Regions from separate parts of the Homo sapiens genome. Here all the other regions are linked to region 1. The links are contacts of gene promoters, found by promoter capture Hi-C in blood cells and fetal thymus (Javierre and others, 2016). All regions are on one chromosome and are shown on one strand. Each heading gives the region's core, a stretch centred on a gene start or on the middle of the fragment in contact. The rest is flanking DNA. Distances are from core to core; before and after follow the strand shown. Region 1 holds the start of SLC19A1 (solute carrier family 19 member 1). Region 2 holds the start of ADARB1 (adenosine deaminase RNA specific B1). Region 3 holds the start of LINC00334 (long intergenic non-protein coding RNA 334).

Region 1 (4,919 bases), core at 1,238-3,737:
GGACTGGCCGGTTGGTCTCAGAAGGCAGTGGGTGGGCAGGGTCCTCATTCTCTGGCAGAGATTTCTTGGGCCTGGACTATGGGTGCTAAGGCTGCCGGGGAGTGGGGGCCCAGGAGCTGGGGATGGGGCACTGCTGTGGGGTGGGCTGCAGAGCCCACCTGAGCCCCTCCAGGAGGGGAAGGGGTCTCTGCGGCCTGCAGCCCCCAGACATCACTGTATATGGCTGGAGCCTACAGGCTGGAGGGCCGGGATCCACACTGCTGGGCCCCTGCTGATCCCTCCAACCCAGGGCTTCTCCCAGGGACCAGCTCTCCCTGCCATCCCTGACGCTCAGGCACTTAACTATTTGACAAACCGATAATGAAACACGCAAGGACGGGGACCGCTGGAGGCTCGTGAGGGCCCAAGCACAGGATCCATTCCCAGATGCCAGTGTCACTCCCAAGTCACCTGCGTTTGTAAATCTCTATTTTGGGTGGAGCCCTCTGGAAGCCCACGCCCCACTGTCTGTGGCCACTCCTCGCAGTCCTCAATGGAGGTTTCTGTAAGTTCTTCACGAGTCTCCTGGCTCTTCCCTCAGAGCAGCTGCCTCTAGATTACAACTGCCAAGTGCTGTTGGTGGCAGAAGCCCTACCTCCCCACTCCGAAGCAGCTCCTGCAGGAAACCTGGGCCTTGTGTGGCTGGGGAACTCCCAGGACTCCTGCCACGCAGGGGGACCCGAGGGCAGCTTGGGCAGGCCCCTCGCGGCCGGGGGCGGATTCGCTCGGCTACACCTGACCGGAGAGACAGGTGAGGGACTGGTCTTTGTGGGTCCTGCGGGGTCCCCTTGGGGCTGTGGCTCCCTGCCTTGCTGTCTCCAGGCGGGAAGGGGGTGGGAGCCATCCTTCTGTGGGAAGGGGTCTAGGAGCCCCGCTGCTGTTCATCCCCACTTCCCCTCGGCTTCCTGGCCTGTCCTGCGTGTAAAGGGAGCAGGCTGCCCTGGCGAGCTGGCCCCATGGCTGGCTCCTCTCTGCCTGGAGGGAAGGAAGGGCCCCTCCTCCTCCGCGTTGCCCCTCCTGTCTTCCAGCAGGGCCAGGTTCTGCCCACCCGTGGAGAAGGCCAGTACAGGGGAGAGAGCCAGGGCTCCCACAAAGCAGGGGGTCCCTCCAGGTGAGGCGCTCCATCCTGTAGTGTTCCCTTAAATTCTGCAAGCTACCCCAGATCCCCCATTTCCAGCCAACAAATCCTTTTTAAGTTCCTTTGAGATTTGTTCGTGTGGCTTGCTACACTCAGGACTCTGGAAAGAAGGCCCAGGCCAGAGCTTTGGGCAGGCGGCCATTTAGGGCAAGGGCCCTGTGTTGGCTTCCTGGTGGGGTTGCCCTGCTGGTGGGCGGGAGACCAAGAGCACCCCCGCAACACCAGGAGGCAGGTCGCGGATTGTGCTGTCTACACTCCGGAAGGGGTACATTCCAGGGGCTGCTGCCCCAGACTCACCCCTCGCCTGGGACCCGCACTCTTGAGCTGTGGGTACCACGGTGGCCGTCCCCTTCTGTTCTGTGCAGTGGACTTCCTGGCTCCTCCTTAGCCTTGGGGCCCCCACAGCCCTCGGCTTGGCTTCCCTCCCCATAGCCAGGCCCTGGGTAACTCCAGGGGAAAGTGACCCTGAGGCCCCCCACTTCTCCCCGTGTCCTGCACAGGCCTTGGGCTTTCGGCGGTGCTGTCTGCCGCAGCCCCACGCCTTCCTGGGAGAGTGGCCCAGGCCCCCCTTCCTGAGTGTGACTGCGCTGCCGTCTGCGAGGCCTGCGCGGGTCTCCCCCGGGCTGTCCCTGCTGGGATGGGGACTGGTGGCCCCGGGCCACGTCCTGGATCCGGCTTGCTCCTTGGTACAAGCCCGTACGGGTCACGGTCAGGCAGGAGGGCGGGCGGCGGGGTCCCGGGGGCGCCGAGTTCGGGGCCGTGCGGTCCCCAAGAGCAGGCTGTGCGTGTCCCTGTTGGAGCCCCACGAAGGCGGCCCAGGGCCACCCCTGAGGGCGCGTGGGCCCGACCCGCGTCCCGGATCCAGCTTGCGGCCAGGAATGCAGGTGTTCCAGGGTGCCAAAAGGAAAACGCACAAGGCCTCGTCGAGGAGGGGGGGTCAGGAGGGGACCGGGGGTGGGAAGAACGCGGGGGAGAGGGATGGCAGGGTGCCCGCCCGAGGGACCGACACCTCCGCGAGTGGCACCCCAGGATGCTGACGCCGGCGGGGGTGGGGGCCCGAGGGGCGGTCGGGGTCAGGGGGCGGCCCCAGGGGTAGGGCCGCAGCACGAGGGGCCGCGTGACCCCGGCGGTGACCGGGTGGGGAGAGGCCGGCGCCGGGGCTGGGAGACGGCCGTGGGTGGGAGGGTGCCCCGTGGGGACGCTCCTGCCGCAGCGCCCGGCCACGCGCGAGGCCCCGCCCTCAGGACGCGTTCGGCGGGACGGACCCGCCCACCCCGCAGCCGCGCGCCCGCCGCGCCGCCTTGTGGGCGCTGTAGTCCCGGAGTCCGCGTGCGCGGGGCCGGGTCCGGGAGCCCCAGGGCAGCCGCCCCGCCGAGTCGCAGGTACCGGTGGGGAACGGGGCCACGGGGCCGCGTGTCGGGGGCTGCGGGGTGTCTCGGGGCCCTGGGGTGAGTGCGGGGCGCGGGCCGAGGTTTGCAGGGCCCTGTGAGGTGAGTGTGGGGGCTGGCGCTGGGGTCCGCGGGGCCCTGGGGAGGGTGCGGGGCGTGGGCCGGGGTCTGCGGTCTGCAGCCTGGGGTCCGCGGGGCCCTGGGGAGGGTGCGGGGCGTGGGCCGGGGTCTGCGGTCTGCAGCCTGGGGTCTGGGGGGCCCTGGGGAGGGTGCGGGGCGTGGCCGGGGTCTGCGGTCTGCAGCCTGGGGTCTGGGGGGCCCTGGGGAGGGTGCGGGGCGTGGGCCGGGGTCTCCGCGGGGGTCGCGGTGGCCCGGGCGCCTGGCAGAACCGTTGCTGTGCAGCGGGTTTCCCGCCGCTCGCTTTCCGCCGCAGCCTGCGAATGGGGTGGGGAGTCCCGGCCCCCAGCCTGCCCTCCGCGTCATCCTGGGGCGCCAAGTCCCACCCCCGGGTCTGGAGGAAAGCGTGGATCCGGCGTTCGCGCCCAGGCACGTGTTGCTTCGGGACGGGCCAGCCGGTGGGTGAACCCTGCCAGCCACGCGTGGGGCGGGCCCCTGGCACATCTCCAGACCATTGTCTCCTGTGCCAGAAGCTTTGTAGGTGCAACTTCCCCTTGGAGCAGCTGTGGGTGCGGATCCAGCGGAGCAATCCCGAGGCGTCTCAGAGAGAGCCTGGACAGCCGCTGGAGCCTTTCCCGAGTGGGTCCTTCCAACACCGCTACAGCAGGAAAGCCATCCCCCTAGGGTCCTGTCCATCGGAAACTCCTGTCCTGGGGAGTCTGGCCTGCCTGGCCTCAGGACACAGGCCAACTAAGCTGGCCCCGAAATCCAGAATGCATCCAGAGGGAAGGTGGGATAAAGTCCTTGGAGGCGCCTGTTGGCCGCCCTGTAAAGAGGTGGCCTCCCCCTACGGAGACCCGAGGATCCCCGCACAGCCCAGATTCAATCAGCAGAGCCGAGGTGCCTCTGGCCCAGTGCACCTGCCTGCCCTGTCCAGGCCTGGGAGCCAGGCTGCATCTCACTGGCCGCCTTTGCCTGGGTGCCACCTGTGCACTGCTTGTTGCAATTGCTAATTGCTTTCTTTCCGAAGGGGCTTTGGTGGATTTTTATAATTCCAGATAGTACAGTTATCTCTGCTGGACACAGATGAGAAAGAGTGCTTCTCGGGTGTTTGGGCCTGCAGCAGTGATAGCCGGAGGGTCTAATTATGCTGTTAGGAACCCTGAACTTGGTCATCTGAACAGGGGTGGGAGGGTGTGCAATGCTTTCTTCTTCTTCTTTTTAAACTAGCAGGCGTTCTAAAAAACATAACGAACATTCTTGGTTAGCCTTCCAGAGTAGGAGCTGGTTTAAACACGGAATGATAGGTGGCGTTTGCTTGTGTTTTGATTGCGGGTCTCTGGCCTTCTCTGGTGCTTGGAAGGACAGGGCCTGGGTGGGGCTGGTCACTGTGGACAGTGGGGCCGGGGATTTGCAGGGGCTGTTACAACCTTCTCCTGAAGGCAGGGATTCTCTCTGCTTCCCCGTGGCCCTCCTGTCTGGTCGGGGACTTCCTTCAGATGCCGGGAAGAGGCCTCAAGCTGTATGGGACTGGGCTGGGGTCTGGACACTTGGAGTCTAGGCGTCCCCTGGCTTGGGGCTGCGTTTCTATGATGGTGACCAAGTTCCCTATCTTTCCTCTTGGAGGTGGTCTGGGCCGTGATGGCCAAGCCTCTGTCAGTGGGCTACGTTCACGGCACATAAGTTGAGTATGCTGGCAGCAGAGGCTGACTGTTAAGACCAGCAGCAGCCCCTTGCTGGCGGAGACTCTGGCTGTCTCTCCAAGGAAGGAATGTTCTGGTCGCTTCTGGAGGTGGCACCTTTCAGAACAGGGGGCCCAAGTACCCAGGGCTCCCGGGCCCCTGGGGGTCCTGTGGGTGGGGATCTGACTCCTGCGGCCATGGACTGTGGGCGCAGACCCTGGGCTTAGTTCAGCTCCTGATGGCTCCCCGTTGTCTGCGGCGATCTGGTTGCTCTGGTTGTCTGGGGATCGGTGCGCCTGTCTAAACCTGCTGACAGGTGGGAAAGTGAACTTGACAGGGAGTCCCAGGGCCAAATGGGTCTCCCAGTGGGGAGGAGTGGGTGCGGTCTGAGGTATGTCCAGCTCTACCCGTGGCCTCTCTGGGCATCAGGGTCCCTGGTGATGGAGCCCAACCTTTGTGCACTGATCTTCCCAGCTGTTGACAGGCCCTGAGGAGGCATGGAAGGTGAGGCCGAGGCAGGCGACCGTCAGATCTGCCTCGGCCTGGCAGTGGCCC
Region 2 (4,919 bases), core at 668-3,167, 470 kb after region 1:
TACAGCTTCAAATGTGATGTAGATGTAGTGGGATATACCCAGTCTTAGGAACCCTCAGACATCTAACAGGGCATCACTCACAGACAATGCATTCCTTTCAGAGTCTGTGTGAGTTCATCCTCTCCACCACAGGCAAGATATAGGCACCCAGCTCAGCCTGTCTCATCAAATACTTACCGAGCCCCCGTTGTGGCTGTCCATGCATACTGGACCCTGTCCTCCGGAGGAACCGCGCAATGAGAGACAGTTAATTCTCTTATCCAAGAAGGAACTGTATCAGCCAAGCTTTTATCCTTTCTTCCTTCTCCCTTTCCCCTCTGGGAAACCCTCAGCAGGCAAAAAGGATACAGCAGTCTCAACCCCAAGGAAAAGATGGTCATCAAAAGACAATTAGCTTTTCTATCTCCTAGAAACAACTGCTCTTAAGACAACCTAGCGTTTTGGAAAATGCAGCTCTGGGTGGCACCTTTCGAAGCAATAAAACATACGGCAAAATTTAAGAGGAAACAAAGAGGATTAAATACATATTTGTATTCTCAATTAAAAAAACTACGGTTCTATCATCTTAATTATGGAGTTAAACGTTAAAGAAACAAGTTTGATATCATGCCACTTTTCGTTATACTTCGAGAACGGAATGCAATAATGGTTAGTAAGAAGGAAGTAAAATGCCTGTATCAGAAGTAACAGCCCAAACCTGCTGACCAAAAATATTAACTGGGAACTAAACACCACGGTGCAGATCTCCGACATAGAAACCTGGACAGGAACACGTTTTAGGTTAGGTTTTCCAGCGTGTAAATCGGGACTCCAACACGTTTCAGCGTCCACAGCCCAATCTGACACCTTCCCTCGCACCCATCCACCACGCAATAATTTTCCTTCTGATGTGAACACGTCAAAAGTCACCTCGGGCCCCCAACTGCCCCAGATTGCTCCCGATCGCTGCAGACGCCCGGCACCCGCAGGAACTTCCCTGGCCCGGGCCGCCCGCGGCGCAGAGCATCCCGCGCGGACACTGCGCCCTCGGAAGGACACGCAGGACCGTCCAGGGCGCAGACTCGTCCCCAACGCAGTCTCCACTCCCGTGGCACAGCGTCCCCTCCCAAGGCAGCCTCCCCTGCCCGGGCCCAGCCTCATCCCGGGCGCAGCCTGCCGTCCCCCGGCGCAGCGTCCCATGCCGGGCGGAGCGTCTCCCCAGGGACATAGCCTACCGTCCCCAGGCGCAGCCTTGTTGCCAACGCAGCCTCCCGTTCCCCGGCGCAACCTTGTACCCGGGGCAGCCTCTGGTCCCCGGGCGCAGCCTCGTCCCCAGCGCAGCCTCCGATCTCCAGGGCACACCGTCCCCTCCCCAAAACGCAGTCTCGGTCCCCAGGGCGCAGCCTCGTCCCGGCGCACCTGCCCTCCCCGCGGCGCAGCGCGGCGCATCCCACGCGGACTCGGCGCCCTCGGGAGGGGACGCGGGGCCGCCCGGGCGCAGCTTCCTCCGGGAGCCGAGCGCCGGAGCAGACGGGCGACCCAGGAGGGTGGGTGCGAGGCGGTGCCGCGGCACCCTCGCTTCTCCGCGGGCGCCCTCCGCTCCCGGGACGGCCCGCAGCTCCGGCCCCACCACCAGTCCCTGCCCGGCGCTTACATAAACGCCGCCACCGCGGGGTCCGGAGCCCGCGCCCGCCCGAGCCGCCGCGGCCCCGCGCCGCCCTCACCTCAGCCGCAGCCGCGCCGCGCCTGGTCCTCCGCACGCGCGCCCCACGCTTCGGCCGCAGTCTCGCGCCGGGCGGCGCTCTGCCTCGTTGGTTGTGCGCAGCGGCGCGGCGTGGCCGTGGCCTCGCGCGGCCCGGAGCCCCGGCCGCCAACCTGGCCGCTTGGCCGCCGCTGCCGCCGCCGCCGCCGCCGCCGCCACGGCCGCCTCAGCGCCTCAGCCCCGCCGCCGGCGGCTCCGCCCCCTCCCCGCCCCCGCCGGCCCGCCGGGCGCGCGCACGCCGAGGGGGCGGGGGCGGCGCAGCGACGCCGGACGTGCGCGCGCTGGGGCGCCCGTGTCTGTCGTGGGCAGCCGGAGCTGTGGCACCTCCCTCACGACCACCTGCGGCGGACGGGCGCGGGGCCGTTGGGGCTGGAGCGCGGCCGGAGCTGAGAGACCGCGGCTGGGCGGCTCCGGAGCGTGGGGCGAGAGCGCGGGACCGGCCTGGCGTCGCGGCGCCGCCCGCCCGAGCGCGGCTGAGGAGACTCTGCCCGCCTTCGTTTTGGGGACGGGGTCTCACTGTCGCCCAGACTGGAGCGCGGTGGACCTCCGAGCTCACGCGATCCTGCCGCCTCAGCCTCCCTGGTAGCTGGGACCGCAGGCGCCCGGCGATTGGCGTTTGCGTTTTGCGGAGGTGGCGTCTCGCGGTGCTGCCCAGGCTCCCGGGCCCCCGCGCTCCTCCCTGCAGCGGGCGCTGCCCCCGCCGAGCCCCCGCCGAGCCCCCGCCGAGCCCCCGCCGAGCCCCCGCCGAGCCCCCGCCGAGCCCCCGCCGAGCCACCCCTGCTTCTCCCTCTCCCGGAGTTGCCTGGGACACGCGGGTCCCGCCGGCCCCCTCTCCCCGCCCGTCATCCTCACTGTAGACTCCGGGAGAACCAGGTCGCGGCCCAGGACCCTGGCTGGACACGGTTCCCGCCGTCTCCTGTTTAGTCCGCACTGACACTAGCAGCTGCTCCAGTTACCAACGTTTAGGTGATGGTGGTTTTGTTTGATTTTTTTTGTTTGTTTGTTTGTTTTAGGTTGATAGTAAAAGCATTTTTTTATAGCATATGCAATAGACCTACTCTTCGATTTATCTATATTTACTGACTGTTCCACAGTTATACCAAGAAATGTTTACACAGATGATGATAAGCATATGTAGAAATGCAACGTTTTCACTGACCGGAATAACCAGCTCCAGGCTGCAGTTCTCTGCACGAAGATAAAGTTTGATAGGCAAACTTGGCAGCTCCTGACCGCGGCGACCTGAGCCCAGAGGAGCAGCCGGGGGCGGTGGGCAGAGCCAGGTGTGGACAAGCGGGTGGGTCCCGCACCTGGGTGGGGGAAGCGGCAGGTTCCAGGGTCAAATTGAGGTTGTACTAGCCCTGGCCTCCAAACCTCAGGCGGCCCACTCTGCCCTCGGCCTCTTTCCTCCCTTGTAAAGTGGGGAGTAAGAGACCATCGCAAGCCAGGGATGGGGTGGCGCACACTGTGATCTCAGCCAGTCTGGAGGCTGGGGCTGGGCGGTGGGGGGGTGCGGGTCGCTTGTGTCTCAGAGCTGGAGCTGTGGTGTGCGAGGCCGAGGTCCGCGCCTATAAATGGCCGCTGCGCTCTGGCCCGGGCAACACTGAGACTCCGACTCTGGAAAACAACAAAACTTAAAAGACGAACACAGATGGAAGTTTGGGAGCCTGGTATGCGGTAAGCACTCCGCAGGTGTCAGCCGCCAGCCCGCAGTCCCGGACAGGTCAGGGGAAGGCCCGCGGTATGCAGCAGGCTGCCGGCTTCAGTCACTGCCTGGTGGAAAACAAGCCTGTCTTTGGGGCCAGCCAGCTAACAAGTGAGCCCTTCACCCCATCTGAAGGCGAAGCACCCAAAGGGGCAACCGTGGACGGCTAAATAAAAATCAAGACTCCTGGGACGCCTTCTCGGGACACATTCTTAAAGAGATACGTGCCTGAGGACGTTGTGTGTATTTCTGTGTAACAGGCCACCCCAAACCTCAGAGGGCGAAAACCTCTCTTCACTGCTCATGACTCTGTGGGCCTGCAGCTTAAGCCGGTTCAGCTGGGACGGCTTGCCTCGGCTCCATGGGGTGTCTGCTGGGCCCACTTACAGGCAGGCGCCCCGGGCAGATCCGGGCCACATGTCACCCACCCACCGCAGGCTGGCCGGGCCTCCCTCCCGTGGTGGCTGGGCTCCGTCGGCAGCAAGAAAAAGCAAATCCCCATGGTGCTTCCCTCCATCTCCCCAGGAGGGTGAGATGGCCGGGGCCTGAGTGGACGTGAGGCACCGCACAGGGGACGGGCACGGCAAGCATGGTTCATCGGGGCTGTCACTGCAGAAGTCTTCCACAGGCCTTCGCTGAGGTGCGGGTTGGTGTGGGGAATACAAGGGAACTCCCCAGAATGGAGGCTGCTTGTGCAAGTTTCAACTTGTCCTTTTTCTCCCTCCAGAGCAGCAGAGAGCGGATGGCGCCCAAGGCCGGGACCCTCTGCTGCTCCCACAGGCCTCTCAGGCGGCTCTGCAGGACCAGCCAGCAGCCTCTGATGCTCCCTTCCTATTCCATGGCTTCAGGTGCCATCCTCTCCACAGAGACGGTTTCTATTGTGACGCTCTCCCTGACTTGGAAGAATGGCACTGGGAACATTCCCCTTGGTGCTGATGTCGGGGAGGAAAGCAGTTTCCAGTCGCCTGGGGCCAGGACATGGCGTTCCCAGCTGTTGTAGAGCATGAAGCACCAGGATGCCCATTCGGGTGCCTGCTGAGATCAGGCTCTTTGAGAAGGAATCCTGTGGTCGCCTGAGGAAGTCCAAAAAAATTTCGAGGACATCTCAGCCATCCATCCCCTGTTCACTGTGGAGGTTGAACACCGGGGCTCCTGGAGGGGGGCCCTGGGTCTCCACAGAAGTGCTGGCAGCCACCATCCACTTCCTGGCCTTCCGTGCCCGCTCCACCTCTGTTCTGTTGTTTACTGTCTCCTTTGTGGGAATTATGGAATAAACAATCACTCTGGTGTCCTGGAAAATAAACCTGATGCTGGAGGGCTTGAGTGTAGGAATCCAGCTGGGCTCCCACTGTCTGCCCCAGGGTGCGGAGTTAGGCTTTGCATAAGCATGTGAGATGCCAACCGCTATGAAATGTGGTCTACACAGCACCAAAAATCCATTTCCCACGTTTTCCCTTCAGTGCAGTTAAATGG
Region 3 (4,919 bases), core at 628-3,127, 310 kb after region 1:
CCCAGGGCTCCAGCCCCACCCCTGCTTGCCTGGGCAAGGGCTTGACATGAGGGATGCACAAGGTCACCTGAACCACCAAGGAGCTGGGGTGGGAGAGCCTGCCCTGAGGCAGGGACAACAGGGTGGCCCCTCCTGGCTGCTGCCACACTCACTGGTCACTCCAGGCATGCGCCTGGTTTATAAGCAAATTATCCAGGGCATTTTTCTCTCCAGGGCCCAAACATATTTCTCTACTACTTAAACAGAGGTAAATTGAATCCACTTAAAAGTACCTGCAGCACAGTTCCCCCCACCTATTTTTTCCCTCGGTTTTGTCGCAGAAAGAGGAGGCACCAAGGAGGCAATCACAGCAAAACTGAGTGACAACACAATGAATTCTAAAACAGAGGCTTGTCCCTTCAATGATCAAATCAGATTTGTCCATGGCAATATTCATCTTCAATTTAAACACAGACAGGTCATCCTCAAGAGATTACTTCCGCCTCAATTCACACAGGACAGGTGATGGGAAGCGATAAGAAACTGTGTCATATCCCCAAATACACTGCATACTGACCCACAGATGGGTGAAAGGGGTGCGCAGCTCTCTGCTTGGCAAGTGACAATATTCAACGGACAGTCAGCATTTTTGCTCTAGAATAGCTACATATAAAGCAATTTGACACATGCCAGGAAGAGGCGATCTTCTGCTTATCCTTTCAACGATTTTTAAAAATAAACTACTTTATAGGATTACATAGCATGAACTGACGGTTTATGAGGGAAGTTCTAGAATAAATAACAATGTACTCATAAGAAATGGATTTTTTTTTCTTTTATAAAAGGTAAACACCCAAATGAGATGGGTTCGCTATCTCACCGGGACACCCAGGCATCCATGCTAAGCTGATTAGTTCCAGGCCAAAGGAGAAAAACAAATAATAGTTTGAAGGTCGCCCTCCTCTGATTTTGTGTAAAAAATATCCCGGCTCTGCATAAGCCCTTCTGTCCTCATTCTCCAGTTCAACTGCTTGAGGTTTGCTTTTCTGAGAAGAAATGTGTTCTCCATATAAATGAGGCTCGGGCGTGGACAGTAAGGACACACACACAGCACAGAGGCTCTGGCCTGGACCCCCAGCCCCAGGAAGGGCCCTGCAGCTCAGACGACATTCAGTGCCCTGCCTGCTGGTTTGCCGCACTGGCTGGTGCCAGGCCTCGGGGGCAGGCAGGCTGGGGTGCACTCTAGTGTCTTGAGAAGCTCAGGATTGGCTGTAAGTCCACCACTGAGTGCTCTGGTTTGGGGTGACTTACCCCTTTGCAGACGAAACCTGAGAAATAGCACCCCGTCCTCAAGGCAGCCCCAGAGTCCTGCAGCCGGGCTGGGCTGGAGAAGAGGCTCACAGGGAAGCGGGCTACAAGTTTTTGGTTTTGCTCCTAATCTCTGAATTTTGAAAACCCGTAACCCCTCATATGCGTTTAGCTCACAATTCAATTTTTAAATTATACAGTTGTTTTGTTTTATAGAAAGGTTGTGATTTCTGTCCTAAATATTGATCTTTACAAAAAAAAACCTTTTGGTCCTCCTTTACATGTCCACGTTTGTGGCTCCTTCCACCGTGGCCACACCAACCTCTGCCTCCCCCTTCTGGGCACCCCTCACCACTCATCCCCGACACGGCCCCAAACCCCAGCCCTCTCTCCGCCCCAGCCCCTCCCTGCGCCCGGCATCACCTCGGGCCACCTGGGACCTCTGGCAGTTACCCTCGAGTCCTCGCGGTGACTGAGACCCCCAGGGCAGGATCCGTCTCCAGTTTAGGAAAAGCTCTAGGAACCAGTGGTCACTCTCAAAGGAGAACCCACGACCTGTGTGTGGCGGGGACTAGGACTCATCCGGGTCTGAACACGGTAAAGATGGACGCCTTCCGCTTCCGCCTGCCGCTTCCGCCTGCCGCTTCCGCCTGCCGCTTCTGCCGCCGCTTCTGCCGCCGCTTCTGCCTGCGCCCCCGCAAAAGGACTAGCTTTTGCTCCTTTGGAAGTTTTGGTCGTTCCTGGACGTGATTCGGCTTCTGTCACAAAATTTGACCCCAGTGCCATCTACTTTGCCTCCTGGAAGTCTTTTGTGCTTACCTCGCCCTACTTCTCTACAACAAAAAGCTTTAAATGGGGTCAAAAATTTAAAATTTATTTTGTGATCAAAAGCTTTTAATATCTCCTGAGTTATTTTCACAAGTAGTATCACTTCAGTTTTTCAGAAAACATATGTATGTTACAAACTGATAGATAACTATTAACACATAAACACATTTGATTGAAACTGCCTCGTTAATGAGAAGAGTGGGGCTGTTTTTCCAGCCGATTGGTTCCCACACTCAAGGAACAGGAGGACTCAGCTCCAGTGAGGCAGGCTTCAGTCTCAAGTATATTTTTCTCTTCATTTTTATAGACCATGTTAGGAAACTTTGTTTGCATGAATATGTAGATAAGGAGGTATAGTATAGCAATGGCCCTCAATTGTGTTCTGAACTCTTCTGAGTAATAGTTCCTAAATCCGATGATGATCTGAAATTTTAAAACTGTAAAAATTAGTTTAATGCTTTATCAGCTATCAACTCGGTTTTTCATTCAAGTGTTTTGAAAGCAAAGGATTAGAAACTACTTGACTTGCCAAAGGATGTGTTATCCAGTCAGTCTCAATTTCTGGAACATTTACTAAGAGGCTGTCCTTGTCTCAGTTTATCAAGGGACTGTCGTTTATCCCTGATTCTCTGTCACCTTATTTAATCTAATATAGTTTGAGGGGGTTGAGAACATTAAAATGTTGTTAATTTCATTGCTTTTTGGGGCCAATTTAATATTTTTGATAAAATGCTTTTATTATACTATTATTTTAAATGTGTTTTCATTGAATCCTTGAAGATGTAGTTCATTCTATTTATGGCAGATGTCCTCCATATACCCTAATCCTCCTTGTCAAACCAGTGAACCAAATTAGACATTTTTCGTCAGGAAAAGTCTGACCTACTTTTTCAATTGAAATAAAAGTGTTAGCATGCTTTTTCAAGGATATTAAAAAAAGAAAACCACTGAGAAATAAATTATAGAGGACATCTTATTAAATTACCAAAAGCAATAAAGTTATGATTTAAGACGTGTAGAGCTAATATAATTAATTGACCCACTTTATGATATGCCATTACAAGAAAATACATCTATATACCACTCTTCTTACTTAATTTGTAACACTTTAATGAAGCATGTGGGTAAATGTTCAGGTCATGTACTAAGTGAGGACTTGTGTGTATATGTTTATTGAACATTACTTTTAGGAGCAAAACACTAAATAAGAATCAACTATAGGCCAGGTGCAGTGGCTCACACCTGTAATCCTAGCTGTTTGGAAGGCCAAGGTAGGAGGATCACTTGAGCCCAGGAGTTCGAAACTAGTCTGAGAAAGATGGCAAGACTCCTACAAAAAATTTAAAAATTAGCTGGGTGTGGTAGCATGCACCTGTAGTCCCAGCTACTCAAGAGGCTGGGGTGGGAGGAGCCCAGGAGTTTGAGGCTGCAGTGGACTACGGTTGTGCTACTCCACTCCAGCCTGGGTGACAGAGACCCCATCTCTTATTAAAAAAATCAAGTATAAAAGTCATTTATAAACCCTCCCCCATTAATTTTGCTACGTATTACAGAAGTTCAGGAGGGGCTGTGCAGAGCTGGACCTCAGCCTCTGAGGTGGAGTGCTGCTGTCCTGCTACTGGCACCTGTGAAGGCGGGCAGTGAGACTCCAAAGCAACCTGCTGATGAGAACCAATAGCAGCTTTGCAGTTGCAGAAGCACTGCGGCTGAGCAGCAACAGCAAGCAAATGGCAGGAAATCACCTTCTCCCTCATCCTGTCTGCCATGGTCCCTCTTGTACTACCTTTGGCAGAATATAAAGCCAGCAGAGAATGGGAACATCATATTTGCAGGGTCCCAGCCTCAATATTATAAAGCGGAACGTAAATATTGAATTTGGAACTGAGAGATAAAGCTTCATAACTGACCCAAGTGGTAGATAGCATGAAAGGTCCAATGTGTCTTCACTCTAAGTCCTAGAAGGAAAGAATCAACATAATGTGGAAAACTAACAAATCCCGTAGCTGACAAAGTGTAAGGTGTGTCTGCAGTATTGTTTATGAGTATCTAAGAGTATTCAACTCATCCATAGAAAATAAGAGAAATGAGCAGACAGGCCAGTAGCCTGTGAGACACATGAGCCAGTAGACTGTGGAGAGAAAATGGGAGCATCAGAGAGGTATTCAGTATTCATAAGGCATTCAGTATTCATAAGACATTCAATATTCATGAGGCATTCAGTATTCATGAAGCATTCAATATTCATGAGGTCAGACAAAATTATCCACCGGTTATTGACTTCTGTTTTGGCCCTACTGTTTTCTGCCTGGGACAAGCAGATAAAAGCCCTAATTCATTTAATCTATTAGAGTTAGTCAATTTGTCAACGGAGTCAATTTTAACATCTTACCACTTCCCTTATTAACAGATTTTATAATGATTAACATAAAATCTTTGACCTTTGTTCATTAGAAAAATAATGGAGATTCCCATCTGTGCCCCAGTGGGACAGAGACTGAGACGTACTCTCATATACTTGGGTCTCCATGTCGCCCTGGCCTTATCACGTTGATATTACCCAGACTAAATTCTGGGTTATTAAAGATGTGTGTTGTTTTCTTTCACTTTTTTTTTTTTTTTTTTTTTTTTTGAGACGGAGTCTCACTCTGTCCCCCAGGCTGGAGTGCAGTGGCGCAATCTCGGCTCACAGTGCAACCTCCGCCTCCCAGGTTCAAGCGATTCTCGTGCCTCAACCTCCCGAGTAGCTGGGATTACAGGTGCATGCCACCATGCCCGGCTAATGTTTTGTATTTTTAGTAGAGACA

The links. The method cuts DNA at HindIII sites, captures the fragments that hold promoters and counts their contacts. A CHiCAGO score of 5 or more calls a contact.
Region 2: a contact is called between the fragment with the promoter of ADARB1 here and the fragment with the promoter of SLC19A1 in region 1, in 14 of 17 cell types (M0 macrophages, fetal thymus, total CD4 T cells and 11 more). The highest score is 20.7, in M0 macrophages.
Region 3: the fragment with the promoter of LINC00334 here is called in contact with the fragment with the promoter of SLC19A1 in region 1 in 2 of 17 cell types (M0 macrophages and endothelial precursors); the score reaches 7.6 in M0 macrophages.

The regions. Positions count from the first base shown.
Region 1 is chr21:45,540,008-45,544,926 of GRCh38, reverse strand. It overlaps SLC19A1 (solute carrier family 19 member 1), which reads left to right and starts at 2,487. Exons shown (of 6, transcript NM_194255.4): 1 at 2,487-2,559. RefSeq lists silencers at 2,214-2,293, 2,334-2,643, 2,994-3,053 and an enhancer at 1,847-2,359. The HindIII fragment of the contact is 3,738 bases long and covers 1-3,217 here.
Region 2 is chr21:45,071,578-45,076,496 of GRCh38, reverse strand. ADARB1 (adenosine deaminase RNA specific B1) reads right to left here and starts at 1,917. Exons shown (of 11, transcript NM_001112.4): 1 at 1,704-1,917. LOC105372836 (a long non-coding RNA gene) reads left to right here and starts at 2,756. Exons shown (of 5, transcript XR_937796.3): 1 at 2,756-3,024. It also overlaps the pseudogene SSR4P1. RefSeq lists silencers at 1,964-2,163, 2,184-2,273. The HindIII fragment of the contact is 4,896 bases long and covers 288-4,919 here.
Region 3 is chr21:45,231,298-45,236,216 of GRCh38, reverse strand. LINC00334 (long intergenic non-protein coding RNA 334) reads right to left here and starts at 1,877. Exons shown (of 3, transcript NR_135279.1): 1 at 1,711-1,877. The HindIII fragment of the contact is 2,370 bases long and covers 1-2,135 here.